2 separate regions of the Homo sapiens genome follow, and region 1 is linked to region 2. The links are contacts of gene promoters, found by promoter capture Hi-C in human tissues and cell types (Jung and others, 2019). All regions are on one chromosome and are shown on one strand. The core of a region is centred on a gene start or on the middle of the fragment in contact, and the rest is flanking DNA. Distances in the headings are between cores, read along the strand shown.

The links. Contacts are between HindIII fragments. The study calls those that stand out against the background at their distance.
Region 1: a contact is called between a fragment that was not itself captured here and the fragment with the promoter of RAPH1 in region 2, in 1 of the 25 tissues and cell types used here (mesendoderm cells).

The regions. Positions count from the first base shown.
Region 1 is chr2:203,719,302-203,725,564 of GRCh38, reverse strand. All of the region lies in intron 1 of CD28 (CD28 molecule), which reads right to left. Among named protein-coding and RNA genes, the nearest start is that of CD28, 16 kb to the right of the region's middle. The HindIII fragment of the contact is 6,145 bases long and covers 1,271-6,263 here.
Region 2 is chr2:203,533,996-203,539,792 of GRCh38, reverse strand. It overlaps RAPH1 (Ras association (RalGDS/AF-6) and pleckstrin homology domains 1), which reads left to right and starts at 4,492. Exons shown (of 14, transcript NM_213589.3): 1 at 4,492-4,682. RefSeq lists silencers at 4,344-4,413, 4,464-4,553, 4,624-4,723. The HindIII fragment of the contact is 20,173 bases long and covers 1-5,797 here.

The sequences.
Region 1 (6,263 bases), core at 3,094-5,593, 190 kb before region 2:
AAGAGAACACATTGATCTCATTTCCCATGGTATCCTCATTGTTGGCACAGGACAATATTATTTCTTTTTTTTTTTCTTTTCTAATGATTGTATAAGGCCTAGAAACATTAGCTGGTTTGTCTGAAGTCACCAAACAAATGGTGAGCAAAGCCAGAACTAAAACCCAAGTTGGCTATGACCACCTGAGAAATAGACCACTGAAGCACTGAGAAACTGGGAATCAACTTTGCAACCAAGACACCTTCCAAAATTTTTCTTTTTTTTTTTTTTTCTGGAGACGGAGTTTCGCTCTTGTTGCCCAGGCTGGAGTGCAATGGTGCGATCTCAGCTGACTGCAACCTCCGCCCTCTGGGTTCAGGTGATTCTCCTGCCTCAGCCTCCCGAGTAGCTGGGATTAACAGGTATGCACCACCATGCCCGGCTAATTTTCTATTTTTAGTAGAGACGGGGTTTCTCCATGTTGGTCAGGCTTGTCTCGAACTCCCAACCTCAGGTGATCCACCGCCTCGGCCTCCCAAAGTGCTGGGATTACAGGTGTGAGCCACTGCGCCTGGCCCTCAAGAATTTTTCTAAAACAACAAACCACTTTGTGTCTTTGATTCAAATTTCAATGCAAACAAAAGCATTTTTTTGCTCTTGTTTTGGGGTATGTTAATAATTATTTACCTACTTGCATTTCTTTTAAGTTTATTTGAAGCAACATCCCGTATACCCACACTGAAGAGCCAAATAAAATCAGATTCATTTTTAAATGAAATTTACAATTTAACTGAATTTGAATTCATATACACAGGTGTTTTGTTTTGGTTTTGGTAAGAAGGAAATGGCATAGAACTAAATTAATAGTAGCTTTTTGTCTCCTATATAATCAATAATGCTGGCTGGGGATGATGGCTCACACCTTTGTGATCCTAGCACTTTGGGAGGCCAAGGCGGGATGAATGCTTGAGCCCAGGAGTTCAAGACCAGCCTGGGCAACATAGAAAGAACCCATCTCTACAAAATTCTTTTTAAAAAATCATTGCTGGCTTTATATCAAGAACTTTAAAATGAAAAAATATCTGTGCCCAAGTCCTCCCACTTCCGGAAATTCTGATTTAATTGGTCTAGGCTGGGGGGAAGGATTGATACTAAGTTTTTTTTCTTTATTTTAGATAATAACTTTATTGAGATATAATTCAGGTACTATAAAGTTTGCTGTTTTAAAGTGTAAAATTCAGAGATTTTTTAGTATATTCACAAAGTTATGAATGAATCACCACTATCTGATTCCAGAACATTTTCATTACTCCATAAAGAAATACCATACCCATTTACCATCACCCTGCTTCCTCCCTCCCTTAAATCCCTGGAAACCACTGATCTACTTTGGCCCTATGAATTTGCCTATTCTGGACTTTTTTTATAAGTAGAATCATACGATATGTGGCTTTTTGTGTCTCGTTTCTTTCACTTAGCATAATGTTTTCAAGTTTCATCCATGTTTCAAGTTTCATCCATGTTGTTGCATGCACCAGAACTTCACTCTTCATGGCCAAATAATATTCCATTGTATGGCTATACTACATTTTGTTTTTCTATTCATCACTTTTTGGCTATTATGAATAATGCTACTATGAGCATTTGCATACAGATTTTTGTGTGGACGTATGTTTTCAACTCTCTTAGGTATTTGCCAGCAGTAAAATTGCTGGGTCATATGGTAACTCTATGTTTAACTTTTTGAGGAATCGTCAAACTGTTGCCAAAGCAACTGCACCATTGTACATTCTCACCAGCAGTGAATGAGGGCTCCAATTTATCCTCACCCTTGCCGACACTTGTTATTGTTCATCTTTTCTATTATAGCCATCCTGGTGGACGTGAAGTGATATCTCATCATGGTTTGATTTGCTATTTCTCTAATAACTAATGATGCTAAGCATCTTTTCATGTGCTTATTAGCCATTGGTCTATTCTTTTTAGAGAACTCTCTATTCAGATCATTTGCCCATTTATTAACTGGTTAGGCTATTTATCTTTTTATTATTGAATTATTGGAGTTCTGTATGCATTTTTTATACTTTTTTTTTTTTATTTTTACAGAGTCTCACTCTGTCACCCAGGCTGGAGTGCAGTGGCATGATCTTGGCTCACTGCAGCCTCTGCCACCCAGAATCAAGCAATCCTCCTGCCTCAGCCTCCCGAGTAGCTGGAATTGGAGGTGACCACCACCACCCCCAGCTAATTTTTATATTTTTAGTAGAGATGGGGTTTCTCCATGTGGGCCAGGCTGGTCTCAAACTCCTGACCTCAGATGATCTGCCTGCCTCAGCCTTGATACAAGTTTCTTATCAGATATGTGATTTGTAAATGTTTTCTCTCATTCTGTGGATTGTCTTTCATATTATCTTAAAAGTTCCCCCACTTGATTCTAATATTCAATTGGGTTGAAAGCCACTATGGCCTAGTGGAATTCACCTGACAACATATTTAGAATCACCTGGAAAAATCTAAAAGCCTTTGGTTTTCCAAGGCCAATTAAATCAGAATCTCTAGGTATAGGACCCAGGCATCCATTCATATTTTTTAAGTTTCTCTAGTAATTCTAGATGGCAGTCAAATTTGAGAACCAGTGGCCTAACAGAGGAAAACTAACTTCTTATCCTCAAATCGGCCTCCACAGGTTTTTCCAACCTCATTTCCTCAAACCGAAGCCCTCCTAATTAGACCATTTAAGCCAACATCCCAAGAACAGACTGTGAGCATTCCTACCTCCATGCCTTGTCTACTAACTCCTTGGCACAGAGCACCACTCCCTTCTCAGGTCTCAAAATGATTACTATCTGTATCGCTCACTTGACATTTGAGTTCTACCTTTTAAACAACTCTTGTTTCACATGCTTCAATTTGCTTAGCTTTGGATTCATGTGCATTTCCCTTAGGCCCCTGGTTTCCAAGTCTCTTGACAGAAAGGACCACATGTTATGCTTCTTTACATAACACAGTATGACTAATAGACTCTCATAAAATAATTGTGGAGTGAAAGATGGTGATTCGGCTGTATTGTTGTTATCAGCAGCTAGGTTTGACTACCATCTCATTAAATCCTTTTTGGAAACCTGTGTCAACAACTTTAACTTCACCTATTATTTGTTCCACAAATATTTTGCAAAAGCACTGAAAAATAAACATGCAAAGAATCAAAAAGTTCGACCTGTCTTAATACAAACATCCAATTTGTTTTTTTGTTTTTGATTTATTTTGTTTGTTTCCTTTTTTTACTTAGAAGGAGTCATTAGGTCAGTTCTAATTGGAAGAGCAACCAACTCCAGCAAGCAATGCCTGCATCTCTCCTCCTTTTCAGAGAGTGAGTGCAGGTTAGGCATTTGTATTCTGCTTGCTCACCGCCCTGGGAATTGTGTTTCTATTGCTAATTATTTGGATTCTGTTTTAATGCACATTCAAATTCTTCCTGATCTGCCTTTGTGAGCTGATTTAAAGAAAAAGATGGGAATGAGAATAGGACTTCTTTGTGGAGACAAAAAAAGGGAGTGTGGGTGGGCTGGAGAGAAACCCCAGATGGCTCCCCAGTTTGACTCCCTCTCCCAGCACACACAGTGAGGTGGAGAGAGGGAAGGGAGAGAGAGGAAGGAAGAAAAGCTGTGGCATCTAGAGTCCAGTGGTTTGCTGAATATGTCCTGTCTAACTCAGGGTGTGACATGTTCCTAAGATGCACATGGGAGAGAAGAATTGATTTCCCAAAAATGAATGCCACTCAATTCCCGTCCTACGGCAGCTCATGATCTGATGGGGAAGAAAGATATAAATAGACCCTACTTTAAACATAGTGACACAGTGATCTGCACAAAACTTCCGGGGGCAACAGGGAAACCAGCTAAGGATCTCAGGAGATGACGGCTGACCTGAGTCCTGAAGGAGTATGCATACATGGATTTGACCAACTTTTACTAAGTAAAAGTTAGCCTGGCTAAGACGTGTCTTTGTGTTGGGGACTGGGGTGAGGTGGGAGAGTGTGTGTTTGGGCTGGGGTGAGTTAGGGGACTGTGGGGAGGATAAGACAAAGAGAGAAAAAGAGTAGTCTGGGCAAGGGAGATGAGGAGGGTAAGAGTGTGGCCGACTTGGGGAATTACAGCTACCTTCTTTTTGCTGGGCCATGAGTTACAAAAGACAAGATTGTCAGAGCAAGCATAGTTCACTCCATTAGAGAGCTTGGGCTCTCTTCTGAAGGTGATGAAGATCTACTGAAGGCTTTTATGCAGAAAAGTGCTAAGATTTTGCTGGAAAAGAGCTTGAAAACTATTTGTTTTCGATAAGGCCATTTGAGGAAAAGCCATCCAATTTATTGCTCATGTTTACTTTCCTCCCTCTTCTTTGTCAACATAGATCATTTTTAAATTAGCTGGCTCTCAAACACAGATACTGTGCTTGAAATCGTTTGCTTACTATGTGTTAACATGTAGCTAACAGCCTCCTAGTTTAGAGTTCAAGCTGAGTTCAAGGTTGGCTGATAAAATCTCGTTTCTCAATATTTATATCCTCATAGCATTTGGTCCCACCTTGGTTCATGTCAATAATTCAGAGAAGCCTAAATAGGAAACTATCTCACAGGACCTCAAAATCTCTATATGCTTTGCAAGACAGTAAATGAGAGAAATTTACTTTTGGTGCTAGAAAAAGATAACCAGTGACTCTAAGTGATACTGAATATGTGTGATCATTGTGACTTTGAGTAAACACAATAATTCTGATTTCTCTTATTTTCTTTTAAAATGGGGCATGTGTAAAAATGCACACCCCTTGCTCTATGAAGTAAAAACATGGAGAAATCAAAGTAGCTGATAATCAGAATATCAGATGACATTTGGCTTTGATATGTATTTTCGGTCTCTGAGTTTCTGAAAATCCACAGTACTTCAAATAATGTAAGGACATATTACAAATGTAAGGACATATCTAGACTCAGAAGAAACCCAAATATGTAGCTCCCTCGTCCTAACTTGTGTTTGATTTCTTTTTGCTTTCCAGTTCATGCTAGGAGTGGAAGGCATTCTTCTTAGGCTACTTGGGTATCAGGAGACCCAGCCCTTTCCCTGTGAATATTTGATTTTACTTCTTGTGAGTGTTCAGGTAAGGTCTACCTAGGTCAAACCTACTAGGTTAAAAGAAACATTGTCAACCCATCCATTTTCTTTGCTTACGTTATCAAAAGATTGGTCTGACTGACATTTCTCTAACTGAATTGACAAGTTGTTTTGAAGGTGAATTTAGTGCTTTGCTTTTCAAAGCCTTTCCTAGCAGCTAAACCAGCTAAAGGTGTGGAGACAGGAAGCACTAACCTCAAACCTCTTTCCCTCACAGCTCCTGCTTAACAACAGGCAACATGAAGAGTGAGATTGGAGGTGAGAAGGTACTTATCTGCTGCTTGTGAGCAAGGTACTGAGAGCTAAAAGATTTCCCACAGATAATCTGTGAATCTTGTGAAACAGCCGACTTCAGGAAAATTGAAAGTTGCTTGAACTTCCATGAGAATGGCAGTGGGTGGTGGGGAAGCTTGGTTACAAAAAAAAACAACTCTTGCCGTTTACACCTATTATAAACGGGTCAATTACCATATTTAGTAATGAGGTCAACCCTCTGCATAGGTGGGGTGGTAACCACCTCTAAGGTGTGGCTCCCAGCATCAAAGAACCCTGACCTTAAAAGGACCCTCCCACCAGCTCAGTTAATGCTTAGATTTCCAAAGAAAATGAAGCCCAAAATGCAATATGGGAAACACATTGGCTTAATTTAGTATCTATGGCTTACATTCACAGGGCTATAAAATGCTGTCTCTTATCTCATCTGAACTCTATATTCAACTGTGAAGTAAATAGGCAGGACAGTCATCTTTATGCCCATCTTACACATGGGGAAACTGAGGTCAAAGAGGTAGATGAGTTGTCCAAGGTTACAGGAAACATAAGTGATCCTTGAAATTTAAGCTCATAACTTATGACTTCTAATCTATTGTTCATTTCCTTCTGCCATGTTGCATCAAAATTTCAACACAATTGCAGTGATTGGTTCTAGATCCTCTCAAAGTTGGACTTGATAGGGAGGATGGTACCAGATGTCTGGAGTGAGGGTTAGGGAGGAGATTACCATTAAGTAGGGGAGTGAATGGAATGGGAAGAGGACCAGAACAAAATACATTTCATTTTCCCCACTATTTTATTAGAGTCTTATCCTGCAAAAAACCACACTCAACTGGAAGGGAACTT
Region 2 (5,797 bases), core at 3,243-5,742:
CACTTCTCCAATGTACAAATCTTTTTATCTTATGTAAAATATTAACCATTAAAAATTAGCATATCTTTAAAAATGACTGATTGGAAACATCATTTAAAACGATATATTCCATAATTTTTTATTCCTCTCCCCATGATTGGTGGAAGGTGCTGGAATTGAGTTTGTAACTCATAAAGCAGTATGTACTGGAAAGAGAATGTGACTGGGGTCAGAAGATACTGGACCTTAGTCCAGTATCTTCTAGTAATAGCTGTTTAACTTTAGACAAGTCACTTCATGCCTTAAGCTACAGCTTCCTTTACTATAAACCAAAAATCTGGTTTAGGTCAGCATTTCCCAAAGTATGTGCTGTGGAACACATGTCTTGTAAGATGTTCCATTGGAAAAAGGGTTTCATGGTTGAATACATTTGGAAAGCGCTTGTATATAATATCTACCTCAGAAATTCCCAGTGCACATTAAAATATTAAAACCACCAGAAATCTCTCTAGTTTAGAAACCCATTGAACTGTCTGGCATTCTCATTTGATTAAAGGAACTTAAAATTTTGAGGGGGAATCACATCTACTAAAATCCTGTGGGACTAGAGTTCCAAAGAACACTTGGGGAAATGATGGACTAAGATGCCTGGATTTATGGTACTATTCTTTCTCATACAGGTATTCAGCCAGTTCCCTGAAACCTGCTCTTTTCCCACGCTCTTTATTTCAGAGGTCACCACCATTCAGTCACTCTTCTAAACCAGAATCCTGAGAGTCATTCTAAATGTCTCTGTTGCATTCACTCCCTCATATCCAGTTATATATTCTGTAGATTCTACCTGTTTAATATATCTCCCATCTAGTCCCTCCTCGCCATTTTATGACCTCTTGATTTTATTGAGACCTGCAGCACACATCTCATTAGGATTCAGGTTGTTGCCATCACCTCCTAATTTTCTCCTGCTCCAGTCTGGTCTTCTTGGTCTCCAAAACACAAACTCAGTTGTTCTGGAGCTAAAATACTTCAAATATTTTATTATTTACTACATTTCCCAGAGTATCAAATTCAAATTCCTTAGTTTAACAAGAGCCCCTTCATGAATGAAGCCCTTCCTACCCTTTCCTCCAACCTCTTTGACTCTTCTCTATGCCTGTTCTGACAAAATGGAATTACTTACTAATACGGTTTGTCTCTGTGTCCCCACCCAAATCTCATCTTATAGCTCCCATAATTTCCACCTGCTGTAGGAGGGACCCAGTGGGAGATAGTTGAATCATGGGGGTGGGTCTTTCCCGTGCTGTTCTCATAATAGTGAATAAGTCTCATGAGATCTGATGGTTTTAAAAATGGGAGTTTCCCTGCACAAGCTCTCTTTTTGCCTGCTGCCATCCATGTAAGATGTGACTTGCTCCTCATCACCTTCTGCCATGATTGTGAGTCCTCCCCAGCCATGTGGAACTGTAAGTCCATTAAACCTCTTTTTCTTCCCAGTCTCAGGTATGTGTTTATCAGCAGCATGAAAACGGACTAATACACTTACGGTGCCTCTAAAGCATGGTGATGCTTGGTGCTTCCACACACCTGCAGAGATATTGTTTTCTTCGTTTGGAATGCTTGTTCCCTCCTTCTTCTGGTTAGCTCCTCCCTATCATTTAACATTCAGTTCAAGAATCTCCCCATCAGGAAGGCTTTCCTGATCTGGTAATGGACTTCCAGTCTAACAATGACTTCCTTACCTGCTTTACCCACTAGACTGTATGCTTTTTGTAGGCAGGAAGCATCATGCCACGTCTTTCTTGTCTTTGTATTCCTGGGCCTTAATTGTAGCTTAATAAACTCTGATTGAATGAACGAATGATTTAATGGTTTAAAGAAACTGATGAGAACACTCTTTTCTCAATGACTGAAAGTGACCTTTTTTCTCTTTTAATTAACCTTGATCTTAGGCTAAGCACTTGGAGAAGAGTTGGCTAAGACCTATGTAAAAGGCACTCAATGGTCTATTTTTTTTTTTTTTCTGAGATGGAGTCTCACTCTTGTCACCCAGGTTGGAGTGCAATGGCAGGATCTTGGCTCACTGCAAGCTCCACTCCCAAGTTCAAGTGATTCTCCTGCCTCAGCCTCCTGAGTAGCTGGGATTACAGGCACCCGCCACCATGCTCAGCTCATTTTTGTATTTTTAGTAGAGATGGGATTTCACCATGTTGGCCAGGCTAGTCTCCAACTCCTGACCTCAGGTGATCCGCCCACCTCAGCCTCCCAAAGTGCTGGGATTACAGGTGCGAGCCACCACTCCTGGCTTCAATCGTCTATTTTTTTAAGGAGGTTTAAATGAATCATCTTCCTTGTAAGGTATCACACAGCCTAGTACATTTAATGACAATAGGATTCATTAAGTTTGGCACCCAGGTGTGTCTAATGTCAACAAACTTGGTCACAAGGGAAATGAGGTGAAAGACTAGATACATTTGTATAAAATTATCACTTATGAAAAATTTTAAAGCATTTATTAATTTATAAATACTTATTGTGCAAGATACTATGCTAGATATTGTGGGAGATACAAGGATGAATAAAGTGTTGTATTATATTCACTTTTGGAGGATAACTTCTTGAAATAATTAGGTGGCAAATGATGATTCCCACAAGAAAGGAAGAGAAGTCTAAAAGAAGTTGGTCAGCAGGATCATCTTCATTTATAAGAGATAGTATTATTCTTTTATTATTTTTATTTTTTATTATACTTTAAGTTCTAGGGTACATGTGCACAACGTGCAGCTTTGTTACATATGTATACATGTGCCATGTTGGTGTGCTGCACCCATTAACTCATCATTTACATTAGGTATATCTCCTAATGCTATCCCTCCCCCCTCTCCATCCCCCCAACAGGCCCCTGTGTGATATATTCCCTGCTTTGTGTCCAAGTGTTCTCATTGTTCAAGTCCCACCTATGAGTGAGATCATGTGGTGTTTGGTTTTCTGTCCTTGCGATAGTTTGCTGAGAATGATGGTTTCCAGCTTCATCCATGTCCCTACAAAGGACATTAACTCAACCTTTTTTATGGCTGCATAGTATTCCGTGGTGTATATGTGCCACATTTTCTTAATCCAGTCAAGAGATAGTATTATTCTATACAAGAATATTGACATACCTACTGAACTTAAAATACAAAAGGGCAGTTATGTTTCAAAAGTACAGATATCTCAAGTGTGAAAGGCAGCCAGTATCTGTATTGTATGGTTCTAAATACCAATTTGAAACAGATTGTGTACCAGTTTGGAACAGATTGTACAAAAAAGACTGAAACCACTTGAAAGTCCTCAAGAATATCAGGAAGTAAGAATGTAATTAACCAAACCAGGATTTGGCCCCAGGACAGAGAAATGAACACTCTCATTCTTAGAGAGGGAGCTAGGATTTCAGGAATGTACAGTCAATGCTTTGTGAAAATTTAAATAAATTCTTAGCAAGCAGATGGGAAGACATGAAAAAGCAATGTTCATTGCAACCAATTTCAGGTCACACTCCCAATTTCTCAATTGTTTTAATGCTGTCAACAAACTTGCTTTGCATGTAGCCAAGCAAACATAACTTAGTTCCATTTGTTCCTTTCTTTGATCAACTTTAGGTGAAGGTCAAAATAAGGACATACTTAAAATCTAAAAGTCTGCCGAAGTCAAGCCTGCATCTAAAGAGGCAGCAGCTGAGCTTAGCGATAAGGAAAAATGCCGACACCTTACTACTACACAATTCCGATGGGGTGGGGGGACAGAAATTAAGGAGGCAGGATTAACAGATTTCGAAGTTTAAAAAGTAAAGGTCATCGAAATGTCCCGTTCCTAAGTTTCCCAATACATTCCATGAAACTGCAGAGACTTTTTGGCCAAAATGGGATTTCCTAAAGAAGGGCCTCACAGATCTCAACGACAATGGTCCTGTAAGTGACCGAGCCAACCCCGGATGCGTTTCTGGAGTCTCTGAATACACGGACAGCGTATAAAGGTGGATGCGTACAGCTCCCTGACAGAACTGCTGGAGGCTGCTGTGCCTCCCAGGGCGCTAGGACAGAGGCTGCTGGGCCGGCTTCCTATGAAAGGCGAGCAGGGGGTGGGGCAGCACTGGGATTTTCCTCCCCACTCATTCATTCTCTGATTCACTCGTTCCTGTAGGCGGCTCACAGGGACTTGCGGAGGAAAGGCGAGGCACGAGCGGAGCCGCGGTTGAGTGCGGCCGGGCGCGGCCGGGCGCCTGAAGGGAGGGCGGAGGGCCGGCGCGGGGCGCGGGCTAGGGAAGGGCGGCGGGCGCGGCGGCCTGCGCCGGAAGTGAGTGGTTGGCGGCGGGCGGGGGCGGCGCGCGGTCCCGCGCGAGTCGGCCCTACAGTCGGCAGTCCGGCCCTCAACCCCGCCTTCTGCGTCTCGGCTGGACGCGAGCACACTCGGCTCCGCCGCCGCCGCCGCCGCCGCGGGGCGCTGCGGCCGCCCCGCCCCCGCTCCCGCCGCCGCCCGCCAGTCAGTCAGTCAGTCAGTCAGTCAGTCAGTCAGTCAGTCACTGAGCGCGCGGCGCGGGAGCTGCTGGCAGTCGCTGCGTCTCTGGCGAGGGAGCGCCGCGCCTGGGGAGGAGGCGGAGGCAGCGGCTGGAGGAGCGCGAGCGGCGGTTTCCTTGCCCGGGGCCGCGGGAAGGCCGACCGACTGCCGCGGTGAGTGGTTAGCCTCGCCCTCGGGGCCAGGGGGTAGGGAGCCGGCTGGGCGCGGGGCCGTGAGGCGCTCCTGCCGCTCCCGCCTCCATTTTCCCGGCGCCCGGCCCCGCCATCCGGGTGCGGTACGGTCGGCGGCAGCCTGGGGCGGGGTCGTTGCCAGGTTGGGGATCGGGCCGGGGCTGGCTGGACCGCTCCCGGCTGGTGGATGGAGGTCGGTGGGGCCTGGACTGCACCCTGCGCCCCTGGGGACCGCGACGGAGGGAGACAATGAGATAAGGGGCCGCCTGGGAGGGTGCGGTTAGGCTTCTCCGACCCAGCACCGGGGGCTGGTGGCCCGGGACCGCAGGGAGGAAAGGACTTTCCCCCGCCCAGCTGCAGAAACCAGCTACTGGATGTCGGGTTGCTTGGGTTTCGATGCCCCCATCTTTCATAGATGAGTTCAGTGCAGAGATTTTGAAAGGCGGGGCTCCTTCTGTGTCTTCTTTCTAATTAAACAGGATAAGTAATTGCTTCATTGCTTTTTAACCGCGTCTCCTCTTGCGGTCTGTATTATACATTCCCGCCGGAAATCCAAACTGCAATTCATGGGGGGGGGGGGGGGGTGGACGGAGGGAGGGGGCAGTGTGATAGTATTAGGATGCCTTCGTGTTAAGACAGGTTGAAAGATGTGGTTTTCTTAAGGCAGTGACTTAGGGTGTCCCCACTGTGTGAGCTGGAAACCGCATAAACCTTATTGCTTACAAGCTCGAAGACATGGTTTAATATGAAATAAGAGCCTTGAGGGAGGGTGTAAGTGTTACATGTGTCTTGCGTGTGTGCATTTCTTAAATTCTTTGGGAAGATCCGTTGGGGAAATCCGGGAGAATGGAAAAGTTCTTCACTCAATCTTCCAATAAGGGTTGATGTTGTCTGCAGCATTTCTCAGGGAAATGTGGAGAGCTGCTTATGTAGGTAAAGTCCACCGTTAAGGAACAGTAAAGGTAACGGGTTAGGGATGAGGCGTGATCGGATTATTAAAGAGTCAGTCCATGGGGATATTAAATTCAGCAAACATTTATGGAATACCTACTCTGTCAGTTAGGCTGGGTGACACCAGGTGAACAAGCATGGGGTGG